Regions from separate parts of the Homo sapiens genome. Here regions 1 and 3 are each linked to region 2. The links are contacts of gene promoters, found by promoter capture Hi-C in blood cells and fetal thymus (Javierre and others, 2016). All regions are on one chromosome and are shown on one strand. The core of a region is centred on a gene start or on the middle of the fragment in contact, and the rest is flanking DNA. Distances in the headings are between cores, read along the strand shown. Region 1 overlaps MADD (MAP kinase activating death domain). Region 2 holds the start of MYBPC3 (myosin binding protein C3). Region 3 overlaps MADD (MAP kinase activating death domain).

Evidence for each region. The method cuts DNA at HindIII sites, captures the fragments that hold promoters and counts their contacts. A CHiCAGO score of 5 or more calls a contact.
Region 1: a fragment that was not itself captured here is called in contact with the fragment with the promoter of MYBPC3 in region 2 in 1 of 17 cell types (erythroblasts); the score reaches 5.9 in erythroblasts.
Region 3: a contact is called between a fragment that was not itself captured here and the fragment with the promoter of MYBPC3 in region 2, in 1 of 17 cell types (M2 macrophages). The highest score is 5.8, in M2 macrophages.

The regions. Positions count from the first base shown.
Region 1 is chr11:47,317,411-47,320,967 of GRCh38, reverse strand. All of the region lies in intron 30 of MADD (MAP kinase activating death domain), which reads right to left. Among named protein-coding and RNA genes, the nearest start is that of MYBPC3, 34 kb to the left of the region's middle. The HindIII fragment of the contact is 3,885 bases long and covers 1-3,557 here.
Region 2 is chr11:47,351,177-47,355,044 of GRCh38, reverse strand. MYBPC3 (myosin binding protein C3) reads left to right here and starts at 2,343. Exons shown (of 35, transcript NM_000256.3): 1 at 2,343-2,422; 2 at 3,540-3,806. The coding sequence starts at 2,398. SPI1 (Spi-1 proto-oncogene) reads left to right here. Exons shown (of 5, transcript NM_003120.3): 5 at 1-185. RefSeq lists enhancers at 2,719-3,699, 3,700-3,868. The HindIII fragment of the contact is 20,166 bases long and covers 1-3,868 here.
Region 3 is chr11:47,301,320-47,304,710 of GRCh38, reverse strand. All of the region lies in intron 24 of MADD (MAP kinase activating death domain), which reads right to left. Among named protein-coding and RNA genes, the nearest start is that of MADD-AS1, 31 kb to the right of the region's middle. The HindIII fragment of the contact is 2,133 bases long and covers 1,006-3,138 here.

The DNA of each region.
Region 1 (3,557 bases), core at 626-3,125, 34 kb after region 2:
GTTCAAGGATATTCAATGAGCAATTATTATTATTATTATTATTTTTTGAGACAGGGTTTTGCTCTGTCACCCAGGATGGACTGAAGTGGTGTAATCAGAGCTCACTGAAGCCTTGACCTCCCAGGCTCAAGGATCCTCCCAACTTAGCCTCCCCAGTAGCTAGGACCATAGGCATGCACTAGCATGCCTAGCTTATTTTAAAATTTTTTGTGGAGACGGGGTTTCCCTATGTTGCCCAGGCTGGTTTTGACCTCCTGGGCTCAAGCGAACCTCCCACCTCAGCCTCCCCAGTAGCTGGTACCACAGGCATACATCACCACATGTATGACTAATTTTTAAATTTTTTATAGAGACAGGGTCTCCCTATGTTGCCCAGGCTGGTCTCAAACTCTGGGCTCAAGCAATCCTCCTGCCTCAGCCTCCCAAAGTACTGGGATTACAGGCGTGAGCCAACATGCTTGGCCTAATGAGTAATATATAAATATATATTTCATTTTTTTAAATTTTTTTTTTGAGACGGAGTCTTGCTCTGTCGCCCAGGCTGGAGTGAAGTGGTGCAATCTCGGCTCACTGCAACCTCCGCCTCCCAGGTTCAAACAATTCTCTGCCTCAGCCTCCCAAGTAACTGGGATTACAAGCACCCACCACCTCGCCTGGCTAATTTTTTGTATTTTTAGTAGAGGCAGGGTTTCACCATCTTGGCCAGGCTGATCTTGAACTCTTGACCTCGTGATCCACCCACCTTGGCCTCCCAAAGTGCTGGGATTACAGGCGTGAGCCACCACACCCAGCATGAGTAATATTTTTTTAAAAAATAGTGAGAGGCACTAGTTAAACCAATTATGGTACACCATACGACATCTAATGGCTAAGCATCCATTAAAGAAAAAAAAAAAAAGACACGGAAAGGTATATCATTAAGTGAAAAAAGCAAATTATTTAACAATATTTGTAATTTTTTTTTTTTTTTTTTTTTTGCGATGGAGTCTCGCTTTGTCACCCAGGCTGGAGAGCAGTGGCATGATCTCGGCTCACTGCAACCTCCGCCTCCGGGTTCAAGCGATTCTCCTGCCTCAGCCTCCCATGTAGCTGGGATTGCAGGCGCCTGCCCAACACGCCCGGCTAATTTTTGTATTTTTAGTAGAAACAGGGTGTCACCACGTTGGCTAGGCTTGTCTGGAACTCCTGACCTCAAGTTATCCACCTGCCTCGGCCTCCCAATGTGCTGGGATTACAGGCTCATGTGAGCCACCATGCCCAGCCCAATATTTGTAATTTGATACCACTTTCGTAAGTGCAAAAACAAAATTCCATATAAATAAATTATATTTGCACAAATATGCATTTTCAATAATCTGAAAGGAGTCACATAAAACTCTTCATTACTGGTTACCTCTGGGACAAAGGATTGAAAGGCAGTGAGTAAAACTTTTAATTATTTTTTAACTTTGGCACGGTTTGAAACATTTACAGCATATACTGTTTTACTTCTGTAACTAAAAAAAGGGCAACAAAGACAATTTTTAAAAATCTTTGGCTGGGTATGGTGGCTCACACCTGTAATCCTAGCATTTTGGGAGGCCAAGGCAGACGGATCACTTAAGGTCAGGAGTTCAAGACCATCCTGGCCAACATGGCAAAACCCCATCTCTGCTAAAAATACCAAAAATTAGCCAAGCGTGGTGATGCGTGCCTGTAGTCCCAGCTACTCGGGAGTCTGAGGTAGGAGAATCTCTTGAAGTCGGTGGGTGGATGTTGCAGTGAGCCAAGATTGTGCCACTGCACTCCAGCCTGGGTGACAGAGCAAGACTCCACCTCCAAAAAAAAAAAAAAAATTATATATATATATATATTTTCCTTGGCCAGGTGTGGCAGCTCACACCTGTAATCCCAGCACTTTGGGAGGCTGAGGTGGGCAGATCACTTGAGGTCAGGAGTTCGAGACCAGCTTGGCCAAAATGGTGAAACCCCGTCTCTACTACAAATACAAAAATTAGCCAGACATGATGGCATGTGCCTGTAGTCCCAGCTACTCAGGAGGCTGAGGCAGGAGAATCGCTTGAACCTGGGAAGTGGAGGTTGCAGTGAACCAAGATTGTACCACTGCACTTCAGCCTGGGCAACAGAGTGAGACTCTGTCTCAAAAAAAAAAAAAAAAAAAAAAAAAAAAAAAAAAAATTCCCAAACTGCTGTCCAGTTGATCATGCAAAAAGCAGGCTATGCTCTGAGAAAGGCTAAATCAAATAGCCTCACAGGAGCCAGGTGATGGCACAGTGACCATGGTGCACTCTTCCCTGGCATGGCACCACTTCGAGGAAGAGGCATCTATTTGGGTAATGGGTCCAGTCCCACACTCCAGAGACTTAGCATGAGGCTCCCTTTGTACGGTGGTGAGAGTAAGAGTAGTTCAAGGAATCTGCTGGAGATATTTTTTTTAAAAGGAAAAGAAAAGGGCAAGAGTCATGTGCCACTTCTGCTGTGGTGCAGATGTCCTAAGTCAGCCCTAGGCTCTGAGAGGCAACTAGCCAAATTCTAACACTTTAAAGGGTGACATGAAAATGACTCCTTCTTGGCTACACTGACATGTATGTTTCTGCTTCAGGGTAAGCCCTTCTTGCGTTTGGTAGACCACCTGTTCAAAAAAACTGTGAATGTGATATTCAAATTCAGCTAAACCACAGGGGAACAGATAACATAGGCAAAATTTTACTACTTTATATATAGGAGTTGTATTTGGTCCTTAAAATTACTTAGGTCTGTTTCAGAATTAAAAACACAGAAATGAAGAAAACACGGCCAATTTCCTTTATAATCCTGGAGAGTAAGGCTTTTTCTAACCATGCCTCAAAATCCAGAAGCCGTAAAAGAAACTATTGATTAATTTAATTATATAAAAGTAGCCAGGCGTGATGGCTCACACCTGTAATCCCAGCACTTTGGGAGGCCGAGGTGGGTGGATCACTTGAGGTCAGGAGTGCGAGACCACCCTGGCCAACATGGTAAAACCCCATCTCTACTAAAAACACAAAAATTAGCCGGGTGTGGTGGCAGGCACCTGTAAACCCAGCTACTTGGGAGGCTGAGGCAGGAGAACTGCTTGAACCCGGGAGGTATAGGTTGCAGTGAGCCGAGATCATGCCACTGCATCCAGCCTGGGCGATAGAGAGAGACTCTGTCTCAAAAAAAAAAAAAAGTTATATACAAATAAAAAATTTATGTGTGTCAAAAAATACCATAGGCAAAATCAGAAGACAAATGAGGAACTTTCTGGTGGGCAGATCAGGTTGCCCACATCTGAGCCCACTGATGTGTAAGAGAGGGACAACCATATGAGGCAATAGGAAGCGTATAGCACCACTCATTAAGTATTCTTCCCAAAAGAGTGAATCTGAAAGTGATCAAACCTCTAAACTGAACTACCAGTCTATGAGAAATATGTGACAGGAAACACGCTAATACAAAGGAGACACAATCAGCAAAAAATCTAGAATGTAGGAGACTCCACAGGGCAAACGATCCAATTTCTTCAACAAAATTAATGGCAAAGGGGGTATTAC
Region 2 (3,868 bases), core at 1,094-3,593:
TCCAGGACTCCACCCCGGCTCCCGGACGCCAGCTGGGCGTCAGACCCCACCGGGGCAACCTTGCAGAGGACGACCCGGGGTACTGCCTTGGGAGTCTCAAGTCCGTATGTAAATCAGATCTCCCCTCTCACCCCTCCCACCCATTAACCTCCTCCCAAAAAACAAGTAAAGTTATTCTCAATCCATCCTCTTGCAGCACAGAGTCTCTTTTAAAATTTGTTGTGTATCTCTTTTGGCCCCTGTGTGCTGCGACGTCTCTTTTTGTCATTTGTCCATCGGGTGTTTACCGAGGACTGTACCCAATGCTGGACCCTGGGAACATGAGGACCAATGACACAGAGCGCCTGAACAGGAGTTAGAGTTTGGTGGAAAGAACAAGTCCTCAATTGTGATTAGGAGAGCAGATCCTATTTAAAAGCTCTCTACTCCTGATAGTTGTTGTTTTTAAGCCTTGATGAGGTTTGAACTCATGATGATGATGATGATGATGATGATGACCATGACCAGCAACAACATTTGATATTCTGGTCAATTAGTATCTGCCAACCTTGAGATGTGGAGTCTAATATCACTCCATTTTATAGAATGGGAAACTGAGGCTTGTAGAGGTCAAATTATTTCCCCAAGGTCACAGCCGTTGAGTGGCCAAGTTGGATCACACTCCAGGTCTGTCCCGACACGTCAACATGGAGTGGGAGGCCTTGCTTATCTGGAAGAGGATACTCTTCAGCATTCCGAGGACAGGAATTAAGCCCCAAAGCTCCTGTGGGCCGCAAAGGGTTCTCACGAGCTGCACGCCCAGCAGGACTTTAGACCCAAGTGAATCCCTGGTGGGACCCCCAGGTTCTATTTGCTTTCTAGCTCCTAGCCACAGCAGGGGAGAAACAGACCAAGCTGAGCGGAGAAGCCTGTAAGTCCTGTGTTTTCCTCCAGACGGTAGCAAGTAGTGGCAGTAGACAGCCTGGGAGTGAGGGACTTCCCAACGCTGTCAAAGACCTTAGGGAACCCAGATTCTGGGGCCATTATCGTAGGGACAAATACCCGCCCCACACCTCCTCAACCCCAGAGGGCTCACTGCAGCCCAACCCTGCAGCTCCCTAGTCCTACTGCAGGGCCACAAGAGAAGGCAAAATGGTGTTGTGTCTTCATTCTTCTATTTTTATTTTTTTTTTTTTGAGACAGGGTCTTACTTTGTTGCCCAGGCTGGAGTGCAGTGGCACGAACATGGCTCACTGCAGCCCTGACCCCCCGGGCTCAAGTGATTCTCCTGCCTCAGCCTCCCGAGCATCTGGGACTACAGGTGTGCGTCACATGCCTGACTGATTTTTGTATTTTTTGTACAGATGGGGTTTCATCATGTTGCCCAGGCTGGTCTCGAACTCCTGAGCTCAAGTGATCTGCCCGCCTCAGCCTCCCAAAGTGCTGGGATTACAGGTGTGAGCCACTTCGCCCAGCCCATTTTTATTTTTTTATTATTATTCTTTGAGATATTAATAATAAAAAATAATAATAAATAATATTTTTATTATTATTATCACTCTGTCACCCAGGCTGCAGTGCAGTGGTGCGATTTTGGCTCACTGCAGCCCGGAACTCCTTGGACTCAAGCGATCCTCCCACCTCAGCCTCCTGGGTAGCTGATACTACAGGTCCACACCACCACACCTGGCTAATTTGTGTGTGTGTGTGTATTTATTTTATTTTTTATTTTTTTAGTAGAGATGGGGTTTTGCCATGTTGCCCAGGCTGGTCTCAAACTCCTGGCCTCAAATAATCTGCCTGCCTCGGCCTCCCAAAGTGCTGGGATTACAGATGAGCCACCACACCCGGCCTAACATTTTTAAAATTATAAACCCACTTCATACGTGTGACAATCCTGTGCAGTGGGTGCTGCTTTCACCCACCCCGCTTTACAGATGAGGAAACCAGGTGCTTTGAGATTAAAGAGATGGCAGTGCTAGGACTCAGAGACACCCTGGCCCCAGGGTCTGTGGACATGACCACTGCCTGAACTGCCTGCGAGGATGCTCCTGACCCGTTAGCCTTAGGGTTATGGGCCCAGCATGCTCCCACCGTACAATTTGCTGTAAGAGGGACACACACGGGGCTTGGAGTACCCCTGAGGCTTGCCAAAGGTTGGGGAGGCAGAATTGTGCTGCGGGGGGTGAGGGGGGAAGGGACAGGAGCCAGCCAGGGACAATGTGGCCCTACCTTCTCCCTGGAGAGACCTCAGCTCTCTGGAATTCATCTATATTTAGCAGGTGGCTGGACAGGAGGCAGATAAGCAGAGCCTGGGGAGGGGGGAGGTCCCCATATATAGTGGGAAGGACAGGACCCCACTCAGTCCCTCTTTGGGTGACCTGTGCCTGCTTCGTGCCTGGTGTGACGTCTCTCAGGATGCCTGAGCCGGGGAAGAAGCCAGGTAGCTTTAGGACTGGGGTTGGGTCTAAGTGTGGGAGCAGGGGGGTGTCTACAATTGGGGAGCAGGGCTAGGAGGGAGTTCTTGAGGGGGTTGACGAGGACGTGGCCTCTGAGCCCCAGGACAGGGGCAGCCAGTCCTCCAGGGTCCTTTTTTGATTCTCGGTTTCTTTTTCCCATCCCTCTGATGAGAGGTGAAGGTAAACCCAAGGTCAGGGACGCAGAGAGGGGACACAGCCAAGACAGGAAGCACCCGGGGTCAACCCATTCTGAGAATGCAAAGGGACCCCTTCCCTGTCCCATTGCCTTCACCTTCCACAGCAAGGTTCCCCGCGGACAGAGCCCACGTTTAGTATGGAGCTGAGCCAGGCTCACGGCATGCCTTCAGACCAGTCTCTACCCACTATGGGTCTCAGTCTCCCAACCTGGGGTGCCGGGGGTGGTGGTGGCATTGGGTTGGTTCCTCCTGGCTGTGACATTATCTGCTTCATGAGCCTGTACGGTGTGGCCCCCATGTTGAGGGTGACACAGCCCCTCTTCTCTGAGAGAGGACAGTCAGGAGCCCCTGAACCCAGGCCAAGGGCAGGGAAAATCACAGCCCAGGGACCTGGGCCTGGGCTGTGCCCTTATGAAGGTTGTCCAGGGCAGAGATCCAGGTCCCCATCCCCCAGCGCCCTCCCAGGCCAGCTTTATCTCAGTTGCTGATACCCAGCCTGAGGTCCTTGGAGGACAAATTTGGCCACATTCCAAGTAGGCAGACTTCCCCGCCCCCTGCCAAGGGCCCGAAATGGTTGGGGGAAAGGGAGCTGGGTTCATCACGGGTGTCTCCAAGCAGGGAAAGTGGACACATGCAGAAAAAGTCTTGTTGGGAGGTCAGGACCACAGCCCTGGCTCTCCCGACTGCTAGCTGTGTGATCTTGGAGGAGCCGCTTAGCTTCTCTGAGCCTCAGTGTCCTCCTCTGAGAAATGAACAGAATAACTGCAACTACCTCAGAGAACTGGTAGAGTATTACGTGAGGGGATGCATAGAAAGTGCTAGCACAGTATTTACTGAGAGGGGCTGCAGGGGCGGGGTGCACGCTCCAACCAGGGGCCGCTGTAGCCTCCACCTGGCCCTTCAGTCTCAGCTTTTAGCAAGAAGCCACGGTCAGTGGAAGTGGCCGCAGGCAGCCCTGCCGTGTTCGAGGCCGAGACAGAGCGGGCAGGAGTGAAGGTGCGCTGGCAGCGCGGAGGCAGTGACATCAGCGCCAGCAACAAGTACGGCCTGGCCACAGAGGGCACACGGCATACGCTGACAGTGCGGGAAGTGGGCCCTGCCGACCAGGGATCTTACGCAGTCATTGCTGGCTCCTCCAAGGTCAAGTTCGACCTCAAGGTCATAGAGGCAGGTAAGATCCTGATCAGCCTTCCCTGAGGTTTGGGCTGCTGGGGGAGGGGCAGCCCAGCGACT
Region 3 (3,391 bases), core at 823-3,322, 50 kb after region 2:
GTAATGATCTTAAGGAAATGCAATGAGATACAAGAAAATACAGATAGATGATTCAACAAAATCAGAAGAACAGTTCATGATATGAATTAGAAATTCAACAAAGAGATAAAAATCATAACAAAAAAACAGAAATCTTGCAGCTGAATAATTCAATGAACAAAGTTTAAAAAATACAATAGAGGGCCAGGCGTGGGGGCTCACACCTGTAATCCCAACACTTTGGGAGGTGAGGTGGGTGGATCGCCTGAGGTTGGGAGCTCAAGGCCAGCCGAAGCAACATGGAGAAACCCCGTCCCTATTAAAAAATACAAAATTAGCCAGGTGTGGTGGCGCATGCCTGTAATCCCAGCTACTTGGGAGGCTGAGGCAGGAGAATTGCTTTAACCCACGAGTCAGAGGTTGCGGTGAGCCGAGATAGTGCCATTGCATTCCAGCCTAGGCAACAAGAGCGAAACTCCGTCTCAAAAAAAAAAAAAAGGAAAAAATACAATAGAGAACTACAACAGCAGACTTGATCAAGCAGAAGAATGACTCTATATTTGAAGATAAGTCATTCGAAATTAGTCAGAGGGAAAAAAGTTAGAATGGAAAACAGTCAAGAAGGTCTACAACACTTAGGGGATCTCATTAAGTAAACAAATATTCATATTATTGGATTTCCAAAGAGAGAAGGGGAAAGGCATAAAAAACTTATTTAATGAAATAATAGCTGAAAACTTCCCAAGTCTGGGGAGAGAGATGGACAGCCAGATCCAGGAAGCTCAAAAGTCCCCAAACAGATTCAACCCAAAAAAGTCCTCTCCAGCCAGATGCGGTGGCTCACGCCTGTAATCCCAGCACTTTGGGAGGCCAAGGCGGGCAGATCATTTGAAGTCAGGAGTTCGAGACCAGCCTGACCAACACGGTGAAATCCTATCTCTACTAAAAATACAAAAAAATTAGCCGAGCGTGGTGGTGCATGCCTGTAATCCCAGCTACTCAGGAAGCTGAGGCAGGAGAAAAGCTTGAACCCAAGCGGCGCAGGTTGCAGTGAGCTGAGATCACACTACTACACTCCAGCCTGGGTGACAGAGTGAGACTGTCTCAAAAAAAAAAAAAAAAAAGGCCTCTCCAAGGTACATTACAGTCAAATTGTCAAAAGTCAAAGAGAGAATTCTAAAAACAGCCAGAGAAGGCCGGGTGCAGTGGCTCACGCCTGTAATCCCAGCACTTTGGGAGGCCGAGGCAGGCAGATCACGAGGTCAGGAGATCGAGACCATCCTGGCTAACATGGTGAAACCCCGTCTCTACTAAAAATACATAAAAATTAGCCAGGCATGGTAGCAGGCACCTTAGTCCTAGCTACTCAGGAGGCTGAGGTAGAATGGTGTGAACCCAGGAGGCGGAGCTTGCAGTGAGCCGAGATTGCACCACTGTACTCCAGCCTGGGTGACAGAGTGAGACTCCGTCTCAAAAAAAAAAAAAAAAAAAACAGCAAGAGAAAAGTGTTAAGTCACATTTAAGGGAATCTCTATTAAACTAACAGATTTCTCTGCAGAAACTTTACAAGCCAGTAGAGAATGGGATGATATATTCAAAGCGCTGCAAGAAAAAGAATCTCAGTCAAGAATACTATACCCAGCAAAGTTGTGCTTCAGAAATGAAGGATAAACTAAGTCTTTCCCAGACATGAAAAAAAAAATGAGGAAGTCATCACACCCTTACAAGACATGCTCAAGGGAGTCCTACATCTGGAAGTAAAAAGATGATAATTACTATCATGAAAATACACAAAAGTATGAAATCCACTTGTAGAACAGACACACAAAGGAGAAAAAGAAAAGAATCAAACCTTATCTCTACAGAAAACCACCAAACCATAATGATAAATGAGAGGAAGAAACAAAGGACATACAAAATAATCAGAAAACAATTAACAAAACAACAGAAGTAAGTCCACACTATCAATAACAACCTTGAATGTAAATAGATTAAATTCCCTCACTTAAAAGGGGTAGACTGGCTGAATGGATTAAAAAAAAAAAATACTTGACCTAACTATATGCTGCCTACAAGAAACTCATTTCACTAGCAAAGACACATACAGACTGAAAGTGAAGGGATGGAGAAAGATATTTCACACAAATAGAAACCAAAAGCAAGCAAGAGTAGCTATAATTATATCAGATAAAACAGACTTTATGTCAAAAACTAAAAAGAGGCTGAGCACGGTGGCTCACGCCTGTAATCCCAGCACTTTGGGAGGCCGAAGCGGGCAGATCACAAGGTCAGGAGTTTGAGACCAGCCTGGCCAACATGGTGAAACCCTGTCTTTACTAAAAATACAAAAATTAGCTGGGCATGGCAGCAGACACCTGTAGTCCCAGCTACTTGGGAGGCTGAGGCAGGAGAATCGCTTGAACCCAGGAGGTGGAGGTTGCAGTGAGCGGAGATTGCGCCACTGCACTCCAGCCTGGGCGACAGAGTGAGACTCTGTCTCACACACACAAAAAAAACCTAAAAAGAGACAAAGAAAGTAATTATGTAATAACAATAAGAGGATATAACAATTGCAAATATATATGCATTCAACACAGAACAGCTATATAAAGCAAGTATTATTAGATCTAAAGGGAGAGATACACACCAATACAATAACAGTTGGGGACTTCAATACCCCACTCTCAGCATTGGACAGATCATCTAGACAGAAAATCAACACAGAAATACCGGATTTATACTACATTTTACATTTAGATTGCATTTTAGACCAAATGGACCTAACAGACATTTACAGAACATTCCATCCAACAGGTGTAGAATACACATTCTTTTCATCAACACCCAGAACATTCTCTAGGACAGACCACATATGAGGCCACAAAATAAGTATAATGAGAAATTTAAGAAAACTGAAATCACAGCAAGTATCTTTTCAGACCACAAAGGAACACTGTGCTCTGAAAATTAGAAATAAATAACAAGAAACTTTTAAAATCATACAAATAAATGGAAATTAAACAATATGCTCCTGAGTGACCAATGGGTCAACAAAGAAATTAAGAAGGAAATTTAAAAATTTCTTCACACAAATGAACATAAAAACACAGCATACCAAAACCTATGGGATACACCAAAAGCAGTATTAAGAAAGAAGCTTATAGCAATAAACGTCACATCAAAAAAGTAGGAAGATTTCAAATCAACTTAATGATGCAGCTCAAAGAATTGTGAAAGCAAGAACAAACCAAACCCAAAATTAGAAGAAATAATCAAGATCAGAGCAGAAATAAAACTTGAGACTTAAAAAAATAGGCCGGGCGTGGTGGCTCATGCCTATAATCCCAGCATTTTGGGAGGCTGAGATGGGTGGATCACCTTAGGCCAGGAGTTTGAGACCAGCCTGGCCAAC